5 separate regions of the Homo sapiens genome follow, and regions 1, 2, 4 and 5 are each linked to region 3. The links are contacts of gene promoters, found by promoter capture Hi-C in blood cells and fetal thymus (Javierre and others, 2016). All regions are on one chromosome and are shown on one strand. Each heading gives the region's core, a stretch centred on a gene start or on the middle of the fragment in contact. The rest is flanking DNA. Distances are from core to core; before and after follow the strand shown.

The links. Contacts are between HindIII fragments. The CHiCAGO score rates a contact against its expected background, and 5 or more counts as called.
Region 1: a contact is called between a fragment that was not itself captured here and the fragment with the promoter of NELFCD in region 3, in 1 of 17 cell types (neutrophils). The highest score is 5.9, in neutrophils.
Region 2: a contact is called between a fragment that was not itself captured here and the fragment with the promoter of NELFCD in region 3, in 1 of 17 cell types (total CD4 T cells). The highest score is 6.7, in total CD4 T cells.
Region 4: a contact is called between a fragment that was not itself captured here and the fragment with the promoter of NELFCD in region 3, in 1 of 17 cell types (neutrophils). The highest score is 7.0, in neutrophils.
Region 5: a contact is called between a fragment that was not itself captured here and the fragment with the promoter of NELFCD in region 3, in 1 of 17 cell types (naive CD4 T cells). The highest score is 5.2, in naive CD4 T cells.

The regions. Positions count from the first base shown.
Region 1 is chr20:58,674,557-58,677,256 of GRCh38, forward strand. It overlaps STX16 (syntaxin 16), which reads left to right. Exons shown (of 9, transcript NM_001001433.3): 9 at 1,631-2,700. The coding sequence ends at 1,735. The region is part of intron 8 of STX16-NPEPL1 (STX16-NPEPL1 readthrough (NMD candidate)); the gene reads left to right. Among named protein-coding and RNA genes, the nearest start is that of NPEPL1, 17 kb to the right of the region's middle. RefSeq lists enhancers at 1,271-1,796, 1,797-2,321. The HindIII fragment of the contact is 2,189 bases long and covers 351-2,539 here.
Region 2 is chr20:59,403,024-59,405,723 of GRCh38, forward strand. No RefSeq gene overlaps it. Among named protein-coding and RNA genes, the nearest start is that of EDN3, 100 kb to the left of the region's middle. RefSeq lists an enhancer at 1,412-1,912. The HindIII fragment of the contact is 361 bases long and covers 1,096-1,456 here.
Region 3 is chr20:58,979,971-58,982,670 of GRCh38, forward strand. It overlaps NELFCD (negative elongation factor complex member C/D), which reads left to right and starts at 1,286. Exons shown (of 15, transcript NM_198976.4): 1 at 1,286-1,399. The coding sequence starts at 1,340. RefSeq lists a silencer at 1,142-1,621 and an enhancer at 1,544-2,044. The HindIII fragment of the contact is 8,660 bases long and covers 1-2,700 here.
Region 4 is chr20:58,645,410-58,648,109 of GRCh38, forward strand. The region is part of intron 1 of LOC107985410 (a long non-coding RNA gene); the gene reads right to left. Among named protein-coding and RNA genes, the nearest start is that of STX16-NPEPL1, 4.5 kb to the right of the region's middle. RefSeq lists a silencer at 2,084-2,378. The HindIII fragment of the contact is 2,566 bases long and covers 48-2,613 here.
Region 5 is chr20:59,262,936-59,265,635 of GRCh38, forward strand. No RefSeq gene overlaps it. Among named protein-coding and RNA genes, the nearest start is that of EDN3, 36 kb to the right of the region's middle. The HindIII fragment of the contact is 692 bases long and covers 928-1,619 here.

The DNA.
Region 1 (2,700 bases), core at 195-2,694, 310 kb before region 3:
AGATCGCCCCATTTAATAGCAGTATTGGGTTTACAAAAAGTCAGCCCTTGCACTAGTCTAACCAGAAGCCCTGAGCTGTCTTTTCAGGGGGCTTGTTGCCATGTGTAGGTGGATATGAGACTCCAGCCTGTGGTGGGAAGAGAAGTCTGACCTTGTCTATGCAGGGTTTTTTTAAGCATTTAGATTAATTTGGTTGCCAAGCCCTGTCTATTAAAAGTGAAAACTAACTTAAGTTTCTCACTCTGTAATACCCAGGTTTTGATGTGCTGCTGAATTATGCATTGGTTTTGAAGTTTCTTAAATAAAAACTAGTGAAATATGTTTTGTAATATAACACAGATAAAAGGAAAAGCTTTCTCTGCGGGAGTGAGCAAATCTAGTGGGAACTAAAAATTTTGTTTTAGGTTCTACTTTATAAATCATTTTGAGAGGTTTTACAGTATATTATTTAGTATTGGCTTCCCTGGTGTTCTGGGTTACTTATTAGAAAAGTCAGCGTGCTCCATCTTCCCTCCAGCCACAAGGCTGTAGGCAGCACGCGCGTGCTCGGCAGTCGGCTAGTCTAAGGGTGATTGAGCGTCGGGAGCTGCTCCCCATGACCGGACTCTCGGTGCTGTCCCCGTGCCTGATGTTTCCTCCTGGTGGATGAGGGGCTCCTCCAGGTGGGCGGGCAGGCTCACTTAGGAAACAAGCCCACCGCGGGGGATGGAGCAGGAGAGATTGCCATTCTCGCCAGGGCTGCCTTCCCGCTGTCTCCTCCTCCCTCCTGTGCCATAGCAAGGTCTGGAAGAGGCAGCGCATGCTCTCCCTGGACGTGCCTCCCGGCGCCCTCTGAACTCTGCTGTCCTCTGGCTCTCCTTTCTCAGTGCTCTGCGTCTTTCGCCAGCCAGGTGGGGCCCTTTGGCATTTCTCTAGCAGGCATGATGGAGTTCCCGCTCCTGCCGAGCTTCCAGGATGCGGTGTTAAGGTGAAGAGATGTGCAGGGTGCAGCCTCGTCCCCAGATTGAGCTTGGAGGGCTCCTTTGCTGTATCGTTAGCGGCACTGGGAGGACGCGCCTCAGAGGGATCTTTCTGCATATGACATCCATGGGGCACACGTGTCTGTTTTTATTTCAAAGGATGAGTTTTTGTTTCCAAATTTAGGGGAGGTCGAAATGGGGCCTCTTCCGGGTGTCTGTTGCCTACCTGCCAGGTACGGTCCTCCAGCCCGTTGTTTCCTTCCGCGGTGAAGGAACTGTGCATTCGCTCCAGGAACACGGACCGGGAACAGGCGACCCGTGCTGCAGGGGCACTTGCCACGGCCTGCAGGAGGAAAAGCCGGGAGAAGCAGGCCCAGCTGCACCCGGAAGCATGAGCTTTCACTTCCCTGTCAGGCTTTGTCTTAGTAGTAGGTTTCCAACAAATCCATTTCCACGTCCAGGGTAAATAAGCAGCACCAGGATCATGGGGCTCTTCCACTCCTGGTGATTGAATTCCGTGGGATTGATTGGAGGGATTACAATCATGTAGCCTGTAGCAGAGACCTCAGTCACTGTGCAGAGAGATCTGGAAGCCTCATTCTGGAAACGAGTGGGACTTGATTTGGGATTTTGGGGAAAATGACGGCCTTTTTTCCCTCCTCTTTTTGTAGGCAGAACAGTATCAAAAGAAGAATCGGAAGATGCTTGTGATTTTAATATTATTTGTCATCATCATTGTGCTCATTGTTGTCCTCGTTGGCGTGAAGTCTCGATAAGTGGCATTGGGTTTTCGTGTGTGCCGCGCGTGTGGATCTCCCGGGTGTGAGGGGCTTGGCCTGCGCCCCGCCAGCTGCCCGCAGAGGTGCAGCCTCGAGGAATCTGAGGGCGTCGGGGCAGCGAACCTTTGCATCCACGGACTCCTCCTTCCCTAGTCCTGCTCAAGCGGTCCGGGGAATGGGTTTTTGTTTTTCCTTCATTGTTGAGAATTTAAGGACCTTTGATACTGCTGCACAATAGAGATTGAGTTCTGGGATCAGTTATAATATATATTTTTTTTAGAAAGAGAAAATGAGCTGAGAGTTTACAGGCACTGCAGAAGCTGTTCAGTATTATATGTGTATATGCTATTTTTTTAGCAGCCATGTCTGAGCAGAATGTTAACATAATTTTTGGAAAAATTTTCTTTAAACCATCTGGTTTTTAAGAAATTTGGTACCAAAAATTGATGAGTAGAGGCAAAAATGCCCCTTCATCTTTCTCTATATATTTTCCAGTTGAAAACAAACTAAGAAGTCCTTTAAGAATTTATAATCCGTTCCCCATTAACTTAATTTAGCTTTTCCATCACTGTTAATGATCAGAGTAACAAAGTGTGAAAAATAAGAAACCATCATTGATGTTAATTAACACATTTAGATGGGCCAGTTAAAACAGCTTCATAAGTTTTAAATTAATTGTAAATGGAATATTCCTCATTTAAAATTTTTGCACTGCATTTTCTACTGTAAACCAAAAGAGGTTACTAAGCAAAACCACCTAAATTTAAGTTGGTGATTTAAATGAATCTCACATTAAAAGAAAGCTTGACAGTGTTATGAAAGCCACCAGACTCAGCCAGTGTGTCCCCATGGGTATCCCCAGCCATCCTTGCTCAATCCATTACTTATATACTAACTACATAATGACCTGTTCAAACCAGACTCTATTTAATGAACTGTGAATTTACACAGAGGCCATTTTA
Region 2 (2,700 bases), core at 26-2,525, 420 kb after region 3:
GCACGCACTCGCCCTGCAAATCTGAAAACCCGGCGCTCTCCCTCCTGCTCTTTAGAAAAAGGGGCATGGGTCACTGTCACCCATTTTCTTATCACGAGAAGAGAGTGCCTGTGTTATTCTCTCTTTAGCTAGGAGAGCTCTCTGTCTTTGTCACACGCACCCCCTTTCCATGTCTGAAAAGGGTGTTTGTGTCACTGTCTGGGCCCAATGTCACTGTCCATTTACTCTGCACCCTGGGCAGGCAGTGCCTTTCACTAGGAAAGAAGGAAGTTTCTCCCACTGCTCCGTCCCCAGGGTCCTCTCAGGGACCTTCCCCCTGTCCCCGCACCTAGTCCAGGTGGGAACCGGTCTCCCCTTGCAGGGAGGCGCTCTGTCTTCTCCCGGGCCTGGATACACAGGTGTCGCAGCAGGAGTTCAATGTACCCCGTGACGCCCTCGCGGCCAGACGCCCCTGCCCAGAAAGAGGGGACCCTCCACTTCACTGAACCCAGCCCGTGCCAGGCCCCCGAGGACACCGGGCCACAGTCTCCTAGGATGCTCCCAGGCCTGGAGCGGGGCAGGGTATCTCGGTGCCAGGCAAGTTGGTCCCCAACGAGCCACCCCAGCGGGGGTCCCTCCTCCAGTCCCCTGAATCCCTTGTCTCTGGGACCACGTCTCATCTAGGCTCAATCAGGGGCGATGACAACAACCATGACTTTGCCCCAGGAACCTGAGTGGGGGGCACGGGGCCCGAGGAAGAAGGGGCCAGCGGGCTGTTCCCCACGCTGCACCCCCACTCTGGCGCAGCGAAGTCTGCAGATCTCTGGGCCCCGGCGCTGCCGAAGCCTCCCCCACGCGCCGCGCTCACTCGCTGCACAACAGCGCCACCACGAGGCCGCGGGCGGAACTGCCGGCAGCACAGCGGTCGCACCCCCCGGGCCCCCCGCCGGCTGTGCGGATCCCGAATCCCTGCTTGGCTCGGAGCTGCCAGGTCTAAGCCGACCCTCAGAGACGCACGCCCCTGACCCACTGGGCAGCTGTGGTGTCTTTGTATACAATGTTCCCTTCCTTTCTCCTCTTCTCGTAGATGTTCAGATTCCAAGGGACTTTTCCAGAAGCTTCCAGAAAACTTTCCTTTTAGGGGCCCAAGAGACCTTGATTTCAGGGACACAGTGAACCCCACTTAGGACCCCAAGAAAAGGGACTTGTCTCCAATCTCCTGTCCTAGAATGTGCAGACTTAGGGGGCTCTCCTGTACTCCTGGGTCCCGCACATCTGTCCAGCCCCGCCTCGTTCACCAGAGGCAGCAGAGACAGGCTGAGCACACAGACGTGGGCTCAACTCTCTGCCCATCCACTCACTGTCTGGGGAACTTGAACAACTCACGTTGCCTTTCTGTGCCTCAGTTTCCCCATCTGGAACTGGTCTAAAAGAACACCCCCCGGTAGAGCTTCTGGGAAGATCACATGAAGTATGAAGCTTTGAGAGCTTTTGTACCCGACAGGCTCTCAGGAGGCAGCAGTCCAAACGGTGGAGGGATCATTATGACTAAGCAGGCACAGCTCCCAGCCGAGGGGGAGCTGGATCTCCCTGGCATCGACCACCCCAGGATGGTTATGGGATAAATACCTCTGCAGACGTTCAAGTGGAGAGGCTCAGGAGGATGCCGGGAATGTCTGCTGTTGCTGGGTGGGGAATTCAAATGATTTGTGTTCACTGTATCCCAGCTAAGAAGTTCTGGGCCGGGGCAATCTTTCTGATGCCCTCTTGTCTCCTGTTAACAAGGATTAGCTCAGCAGTATAGACAGGACCATAAAATATACCACCTTAGCCAGATCCTGGGGAGGCCACTAATGGAGCCACACTGGGCCAGGTCCACGGGGGCCTCTCAGTCACAGCTGGGAGATGAGGCAAAGCCACCGTCGTCCTCACCTGCCCATCCACCATCCCGGTGAGGTCAGTGCTCAAAACCTGTCTTTATCCCAGTCCGGTCTCACAGGGAGTATTTGTGCTGCTTTAAAGCCCTTCCCGGTGTCCTACTTACTTCTCCCTCTCAACCCGCCGGCTGAGATAGGCTAAAGAGAACATCGTTTCTTCAACAGATGTTTATTGAGGACCTGTTATATTTCGGGAGCCGTGCTGGCCGCTAGGGACACAGCCTGAACAAGATAGGTCCCTCTTCTCTCAGGGAACTGACATTCTGGTGGAGAGAGGACAAAAACCATGTATTAATAAGTAAACAAGACAATTTCAGAAGACAAAGGCTGTGAATGAAGCAAAATAGGATAGACAGTAATTGGAGAGGGCTCCTTTACACAAGGGGCGGGGGGCGGGGATAAGAAGAAGGAGCTGGCTGAGTGCAGAACAGCAGGAAGGGTATTCTAGGCAGAGTGAATAGCAGGTTGAGGCCCGGGGTCAGGGGAGAATGAGCTCTGCCCGTTTGAGGAATGGCAGGAAGGGCCCTGGGGCAGGTGCGCAGTGGTCAGGGAAGCGGCCAGAGCTGGCTTGTGCTGGATGCAAAGAGAAGGTAAGGGATTGGAGTACTTAATAAATATTTGTCAAGTGAGTGAATGCATAATTTGATCTATCCATGTACAGTTGACCAGGTGGCGAAGGTTTGCCGAGTCAGCTTCTGTCCATTTTCTCTACTTAGTGGTGTCAGCTCTCAAAGACTTCTTGCTTCAGAGCCCCTCTCCGTGCTCCTGTGAGGGTGGGGATGAA
Region 3 (2,700 bases), core at 36-2,535:
AACAAAACAAAAACACAACAACCAAACAAAAACCTTTCCGTGATCATCAGGAGGCTGTCATATTCTCACCCCCTACTTCACGCTGGGAATCGAGCTGCGGGCTTTACAACAGCGTCAGCTGCTCCCTTTGGCAACGACCAGAGAGGTCCTTTCTCCAGAGATTTTTGTCAGCTCTGGGCACTTTTGCTTTGTGGGCCTATCTTCCACTTTATAAAAAATTAAAAATGCTACTTTCCACTGCATTCAGTACTTTTTCTTCTCTTTTCTTTTTTCTTTTCTTTTCTTTCTTTCTTCTTTCTTTCTTTTTCTTTTTCTTTTTTTTTTTTTTTTTGACACAGTTTCACTCTGTTGCCTAGGCTGGAGTGCGGTGGTGTGATCTTGGCTCACTGCAACCTCCACCTCCTGGGTTCAAGCGGTTCTCGTGACTCAGCCTCTTGAGTAGCTGAGACTACAGGCGCCCGCCACCATGCCCAGCTAATTTTTGTGTTATTAGTAGAGAAGGGGTTTTACCATGTTGACCAGGCTGGTCTCGAACTCCTGACCTCAGGTGATCCGCCCGCCTCGGCCTCCCAAAGTGTTGGGATTACAGGCGTGAGCCACCGTGCCCTGCCCTTTTTATGTATGTATTTATTTATTTGAGATAGGGTCTCGCTCTGTCGCTCAGGCTGGAGTGCAATGGTGCGATCTTGGCTCACTGCAACCTCCGCCTCCCGGGTTCAAGCGATTCTCCTGCCTCAGTCACCCGAGTACCTGGGATTACAGGCGCATGCCACCACGCCCGGCTAATTTTTGTATTTTGAGCAGAGACGGGGTTTCACCATGTTGGCCAGACTGGCCTCGAACTCCTGACCTCAAGTGATCCGTCAGCCTCGGTCTCCCAAAGTGCTGGGATTACAGGCGTGAGCCCCCACGCCCGGTCGCGTTTAGTACTTTTTACCAAAACTAAAAGAAATTAAAACACTTTCGTGGGTCCTGGACACTTCCGGAAGGATTTGTTTCCAGCTGCCAGATGAGGAAACTGGGGCTCGCAGAGCCGGCGCCGCAGGGGAGGGGCTGTGCACGAATCCAGTGGGAAACCTCTCTCCGGAGCTAAGCCCCTGGTCCACCCGGGCATCGCTCCGGGATCGACTGGGGGCGTTCCTTCCGCCGGTCCCCTTTGTTCCCAGTGCCGAGCCCGCGGCCCTGCCCTTCCTCCAGGCCCCGCCCCTTCTTCCAGGCCCCGCCTCCCGCCCGGGCCGAGGCGCGCGGCCGCGCGTGCGCCCGCCCGCCCGTCCCCGCCTCGCGCATGCGCCGCGCTCGCTCGCGGGAGGGCATGGCGGGGGCCGTGCCGGGCGCCATCATGGACGAGGACTACTACGGGAGCGCGGCCGAGTGGGGCGACGAGGCTGACGGCGGCCAGGTGAGGCGGGGCACTGGGCGCACCCTAGAGAGAATCGTTCGTCTCCGCCGCCGGCGGGCCGGCCCCACTCCCGGAGAGGCCGCGCGGCGCGAGGCTGCGGGCGTGCGGGGGGTGTGCGCGCGCACGGCCCGCGCGGTCACCGTGTGGTTCAAGCACAGCCCGCCCCGCCCCCGCCCGCCCGGGGTCCCGCGGCGCGGCCGCCGGGGTCCCCGCCTCCTCGCCTGCAGGACCTTGGGGTGGGGGTGAGGCGCCGGAGGCTCTGGCGCGGGGCGGCCCGAGGCCCCCAGTACCCCCTCGCTCCGGCCAGGCCCGGCGCCGGCCCTGCGACCCCCGCGGCGGGCGGGACACCAACGCTAAGGTGGAGGGTTGGGTCCGGAGCTCACAGACTTTTAAACAAAAATAAAGTGGAAAAACTTCACAGCAGCATCATGAGGAAAAAGTAGAACTTAGGGCATTCCTACATGTGCTTTACTGTTTTATAAACTGTACTCTTCAGCACCTTGGGCTGATTTCATCTGTTTTTGGGCAAACTGATGGAAAGGATTTTCGGGCCTTGACCTTCCAGGGTTTGGGGTGGAAGCCCAGGAGGGATCACTGTTCCACCCTGAGGACAGGGACTGCAGAGCCAGGGCAGGTAGCTCTAGTCTGGACAGTGTGTCCCCACCTTACTCTAAAGACCCAACTGAGGCGCATGATTGAAATGTAGCTTCTCACGTCCCTCCCCTGGAGACGGCCCAACAGTTGGTCTGGACGGGAGCCTGGGAACTTGCATTTTTTTTTTTTTTTTTTTTTTTTTTTTTTTTTGTGGTGGAGTTTCGCTCTTGTTGCCCAGGCTGGAGTGTAATGGCGCCATCGCGGCTCACTGCAACGTCTGCCTCTCGGATTCAAGCGATTCTCCTGCCTCAGCCTCCCGAATAGCTGGGATTACAGGCACCCACCACCATGCCCAGCTAATTTTTAAAATTTTGAGTAGAGAGGGGGTTTCACCTTGTTGGCCAGGCTGGTCTCAAACTCTTGACCTCAGGTGATCCACCCACCTCTGCCTCCCAAAGTACTGGGATTACAGGCGTGAGCCACTGCTCGTGGCCCAGGAACTTGCATTTTTAACAACAATCAAGATTGGGGATGTCTGGTGCATTTTGAAGTGGTATTATAAGGGAATAAAGGATGAAGTGGGGCTTACGTTGATAAACATGGGTGGTGGTGTGATGGCGGCTTCGGAGCCATGGTCTAAAATGCCAAGGCGGGCGATGTGTTTCTGGAACTGAAAGAAGCCCTGTGATGTTAGCTGCCTGGTGGAA
Region 4 (2,700 bases), core at 81-2,580, 330 kb before region 3:
CTGGATCCAGCTACGCATAGATGTTTGGGCCAACACATTTGCTTTGAAGCTTAAGTCCATTTGATTTGGGTTCTGTCCCTTGTGACCAAAGGAGTCTTGAGCCATGCATGGCCACATAGCTAATAAGGGGCTGCTGGTTGCACAGGCAGCATCTGGAGAAGGCTGGAGTCCAGCCCTGCACTTGCACATCACACAAATTACCACGAGCAGGTCAGTGGTCATGGCCATGGGAAAAAAAACTAGAAACGAGTGAGTTGGCTATGTTTCAATACCTGCTAGCGGAAAAACACAATGATTTCCTTTATGTTTTTCAGGGTTTGAGTCATCCAGGTCAGTCCTGGCTTGGCACATTAACTTATTGTTCCTGCCAAGGGAGATGGTTAAGATGGGAGGGTTGATTTATTTGAGTACACATGTGTCCACATCATCCTGGAAAAAAAGTAAAATGCAGATATGCTTTGCTGGCATGTGTTGTGACCCAAGAGGCCTCTTCTTGGCCTCAAAGACCAAAAGCCACGATGTTAGACATTGTTTCAGTCTTGAACTTGACCAAGCATGGGCAGGCACCTGGTATGATGGTGACATAAGGGCCCTGGGAGAGGAGAGTCCTCTCCCCACACGGTGGACAGGGTAGGAGGATTACTTTCTATTGAATAGTCTGAGACAAGAGTGGTGAGAAGGAGCCAGTTATTTGAAGAACCTAGGAAGGAGAGCAAAGCAGGTGCTAAGGAGGTGTGAGGAATGGTGGGAAGGCTAGTGTGGCTGAAAAGGGGTGAGCGAGGGGGACAGAGAACTGCCCTAATCTCTCCACCCATTTTGAGTCTTGACTGTCTGGTATTCTCTAGCACTTAATATAGTTAATCTCACCTTTTGTGCATTAATCCATCCAGTCATCCATTCCGCAAACATTTATCACACCTGACAGTGTAGGGGGTGCTGTCTTCAATGAAGGGTTCACCAAGCAGAAGGGGCAAGACACATCCCCCGCCACTACCCCCACCAGGCAGAGAAAGGCCTGTGAGCCAAGTCCTGGAAAGAAAAAAGCTCACCATTTAGGTGGGGCCTGTTGGGCAGGGCTTTGAATGCCCAGGGGGCACTCCGCCATGTGGAAAGTGTAGAAAACCTAAATGCAGAACTCCAGGAAATACTGATCTATGGGAAAAAAATTGTACTGAAATCCATGATTCTGGAATAAATCAGATCTAGTCTTATACTATATTCTAATACAGCCAAGTGGTGGCAGGGACTGAAGGTTTAAGAGAAAGCGAGAAGAGAAACACTTAAGATGGAGACTACTCCATTAATTAGCTTCATTTTTTTTTTTCTGACAACCAAGAAAAGTCCATCATTAGTTAATATTAGTGATGCCCAGCTTGGTTCAACTTAGAGCACCTGTTTTCTGCTGAGCGTCATTTGAGATCGGCTGGCATGGGCCAGAGGGAGCTGTTTCAGGGCCTCAATCAGGCAGTGACATGATCAGATTTATGCTTTGGAAAGGTCACTGTGGCTGCAGGATGAGGAGGGAAGAGACGGGTGGTTGTTAGCAGGCTGCTGGGAAAATGTACACGATGAGAACCAGAATTTGGGTAGAGACAGTGGAGATGCAAATTCCCTGAAGGCAAGAGTTTTGCTGTTTCATTCTTTCAGCAGTGCCTGGCAAGAGATAGGCACAGCCACTGGTAGATTTTTAGAAATGCCTACTGTATTGAATTGTCTGGTATTAAAAGCTACGGGACTCCAGACAAAACAAAAGTGTTGCCTCTCTCCAGAGTCTCCCTTCTTGGGAGAGGCATCATAGCTGAAGACAGACCCAGATAGGGAGTTTTCTGTTGTTGGAAATACTCAAGGTTTTGAGGAACTATTTGGGGACACAGAACACACAACTCCTGTTACCCGAACCTGGCCCGAATCTGTCTGTCAGATCTGTGCAGACGAGACATATGTTAGGCCTGGGGGCTTTTGCTGCTTGATAAGCAAACAACCATCTGTCTTTCTATAGGTGGGAGAAAGACCAATGTTAAAAGGTGTCTTTGAGATGGTTTAGCCCCCTCTTCCACATGAGTGTGCACTGCAGACACATCTGGATTCCCAAGGTCCAGAACAAGAAGCTCGGAAACGTGCTTAGATTTCCAAGTGTTCAGTTCTCAATACCATGCCATTCTCTTTGGAGTTTATGATGCCTTCCAGGGAGAGCAGAGCCCACGTGAGCTTTCCAACAGTAAGACTACTGCTGTAATAAATCATATTGCCCATTTGTGGCGCACTTACTCTATGCTGAGGTTGTATAAGGGCTTACATGAGCCCTATCTCATTTAAATTGTTTTCACCAAAGGGTGTGTGTCCCACTGCTGACCTGTTGAGCTAACCATCCCCTCTCAGTACTTGAAAACCTGCACCTGCCCAAGCCATGGCCTGGCTTCAATGGGGCTTCCTCCTGCACTGAATGAGATGACAAGAAAACAATGAAACACTTGTCCCCAAAAGTGACTTATTGGATTCGTTGGCAGAATGTTAGAAAGTGGGTATGAAGCCCAAGAAACAGGACACGGAGCCTCACCAAGCCCGAGGAGTATTACCGAATCCTAGCCCAGGCCAAGAATGAGTCACAATGAAAGCTTTTAAAATGTAAAACCATCAACCTAGATTTCAATTCCAAGGAAACACATACTTGGCCATGGGGGAATGCTTTAAAAAAAAAAA
Region 5 (2,700 bases), core at 24-2,523, 280 kb after region 3:
TTCTCTACCTGAGCATCGTAACTTGGGACTACTTTTGCTAAAAGGTAATTTCCAGGCACCTCAGCACAAAGGAAATGAAGGCATCTTTGATCCCACATAGCAAAGAAACCCAGGTCGACACTATTTCAGACCTAACTTCCTTGGGAGGAAACATCAAATATTTGATGACTGATGTTGTCATTCCCAAATTCTTTTTCTCAAGAAAGATTAAGATATCATGCTTTAAGGCAGTGGTTCTCAGAGGGGGCAATTTTATTTCCCAGGCATCTGTATGCAGAGGGCAGGGATTCTGCTCAACGTCCTGCAGTGCGTAACACAAGGCAGTTCCCATAACAAAGATGTATCCAGTCTATAGTGCCAGAGGTGCTGAGGTTGAGAAGCTCTGGTCTCAGGAGTTAGGGTGACAGTGTAGTGCTGGCCCCAGAAACAGCTCAGCCCTCATGCTGACGATGAGACTGGAGTGGAGAGAAAGACGTACCCTGGCAGGACCAGAGGCAGAGTCCAGGGCCCACAGTCCGGTATTTCTTCACAGCTGCATTAGGACATGTTTCTAGAGCCTACACACAGCAGGACATTAACTGATGAAAATTTAAACCCCAAAATCATCCCCCTGCCCTGCTCCATTCCACCTCGAGGAGAAAGAGCCAGGAGAAAGGATGACACGTCTATGGGAATAGATGCTGTTTATTGCTTTACCATCCCCAAGCACACTTGAACACTGAGTAGACACTAAGGAAATATTTACATAGGGAAGGATAGGATTTTGCTGTGAAAGTAGATGCAACCCAAACGCTCTACAAACTTCTATAGCCAACTGGAATGAAAAAGAATGAACACCAATGCTGGGCATCAAGTTGAGAAAATCGAGAGTATCGGTTTGCTCCTTCTTCCTTTTAGGGGAAATCAAGGACCAGAGGGTTTTGCCCAAGCTTGAGTGAGAGGCAAAGTGGTGACTGACACCAGGACTTCACCCCTAAACTCCAACATTTTTGCCATGACACCACCACCTTCTGCTTCCAAAATTTTCCATTATGCTCTACTGTCTTTCCTAGAAGTGGAAAGAAGGACATTTTTGTCAAGATTTTCTGCATCAGGGTTTGAAAATTTTGATGACTTTTTGGTTAACTGAAAATTACCCAGAAAATCAAATTATCTAGACTGCTCATCCCCCAAATGTTCTAGTTAATCAAGGTTTGATTGTGTTTGTTTTGCAAAAAGAAAACTTCTCTCCTAAGACATTTAGACTCAAATAGATGTGCCCGGTGCTTATGTGGTCTCATAATTTATGCACTTGAGTTGCTGTTCCGTGGGCAATTTGGCAGGGATCACAGGCATAGACAAAGAAGATGTTAACAGCAAAAAAGACATCACCAGAAAGCCTTTGGAAGACAAACACTTCACATCTTCAATTACAAGACAACCTGATGCAGAAAGAGACTAAATTAATTTAAAAACCTCCTGCACAAAGAAAATAATGGAAAAATACATCACAAGTAGTTATCCCTTTTGTGCTAAAAACAAGTGATTCGGAGAAAATAACTGCATGGGGCTGAATGTGTTAGTCTTATAATCTTCTAGTTTTAAATTCTTAGGGGAGAAACAGAGAATAAGAAAAAAGAAGCTTTCATTGTTGCAACAAACATTTATTGGATATTTAGTGTATTGCCAGGCACCAGGCTACACTTTCTGTGACTTTTTCTACTCTTAAAATTTCTTTCAATCATGTGAAAGAAACTTCTAGATGTCTCATTACTGATTCCAACAGTGGCTCTAGAAAGGCCATTTTTTTCTGAGGTTTTTGCAAAAACTGTTTTGGCTCAACTTAGAAGTGCAGCTGGGAATATCACTTGGTGTTATTCCCCCTGGGAGCCTGAGTTCTCTGCGACTGGTTTATCCTAAGGTTTGGGGGCCACCCATTTGCAAGGAGAGGGCCTTAGATTACTAGAGATTATGAATATTTCAGGTTGAGTTCTCTGGGAAGTAGGCTCTGAAATGGAGCTCGGTGTGCCAGGGGTTTATTAGGGAGTTACCATGGACAACCACATCTGTGTAGAGGAGGAGGAAATGGATACAGGCAACAGCAGCCTTGGCCAACCCATGGGATGCTCTGCAGCTAGAATGGGCCTTTAAAGTTGGCTAGACCAGGACTTTAGACTCCTGCATTCATCAGTCACTGGATGTGGGCTGCCTGGGGCTACCTGAGAAAGTTGTGACCTTGAGGGAGGCAGCTCTTTGCAACTGAAGCAATCTCTGAAGGGACAGATTGCTGAAGGCTGCTTGCTGACAATCTTTCACTAAAGGGGCTCTGGGTGGCATATCATAGCATTCACTACTGTGAGGCTCCATTGAGAACTGACCTGCCTTCCTTCCCTCCTTCCTTCCTTCTTTCCTTCTTTCCTTCCTTCCTTCCTTCCTTCCTTCCTTTCCTCCTTCCTTTCTTCCTCCCTCCCTCCCTCTTTTCCTTGCTTCTTTTCTTACTTTCTTTCCTCCATTCTTCCTTTCTTCCTTCCTCCCTTCATTCCTTCCCTCCTTCTTTCCTTCCTTCCATTCTCCCTCCCTCCTTTTCTTCCTTATTTTCTTCCTTTCTTTCCTCCACTCTTCCTTTCTTCCTTCCTTCCTCCCTTCATTCCTTCTCTCCTTCTTTCCTTCCTTCCCTTCTCCTTTCTTCCTTCCTTCCTTCCTTCCTCCCTCCCTTCCCTC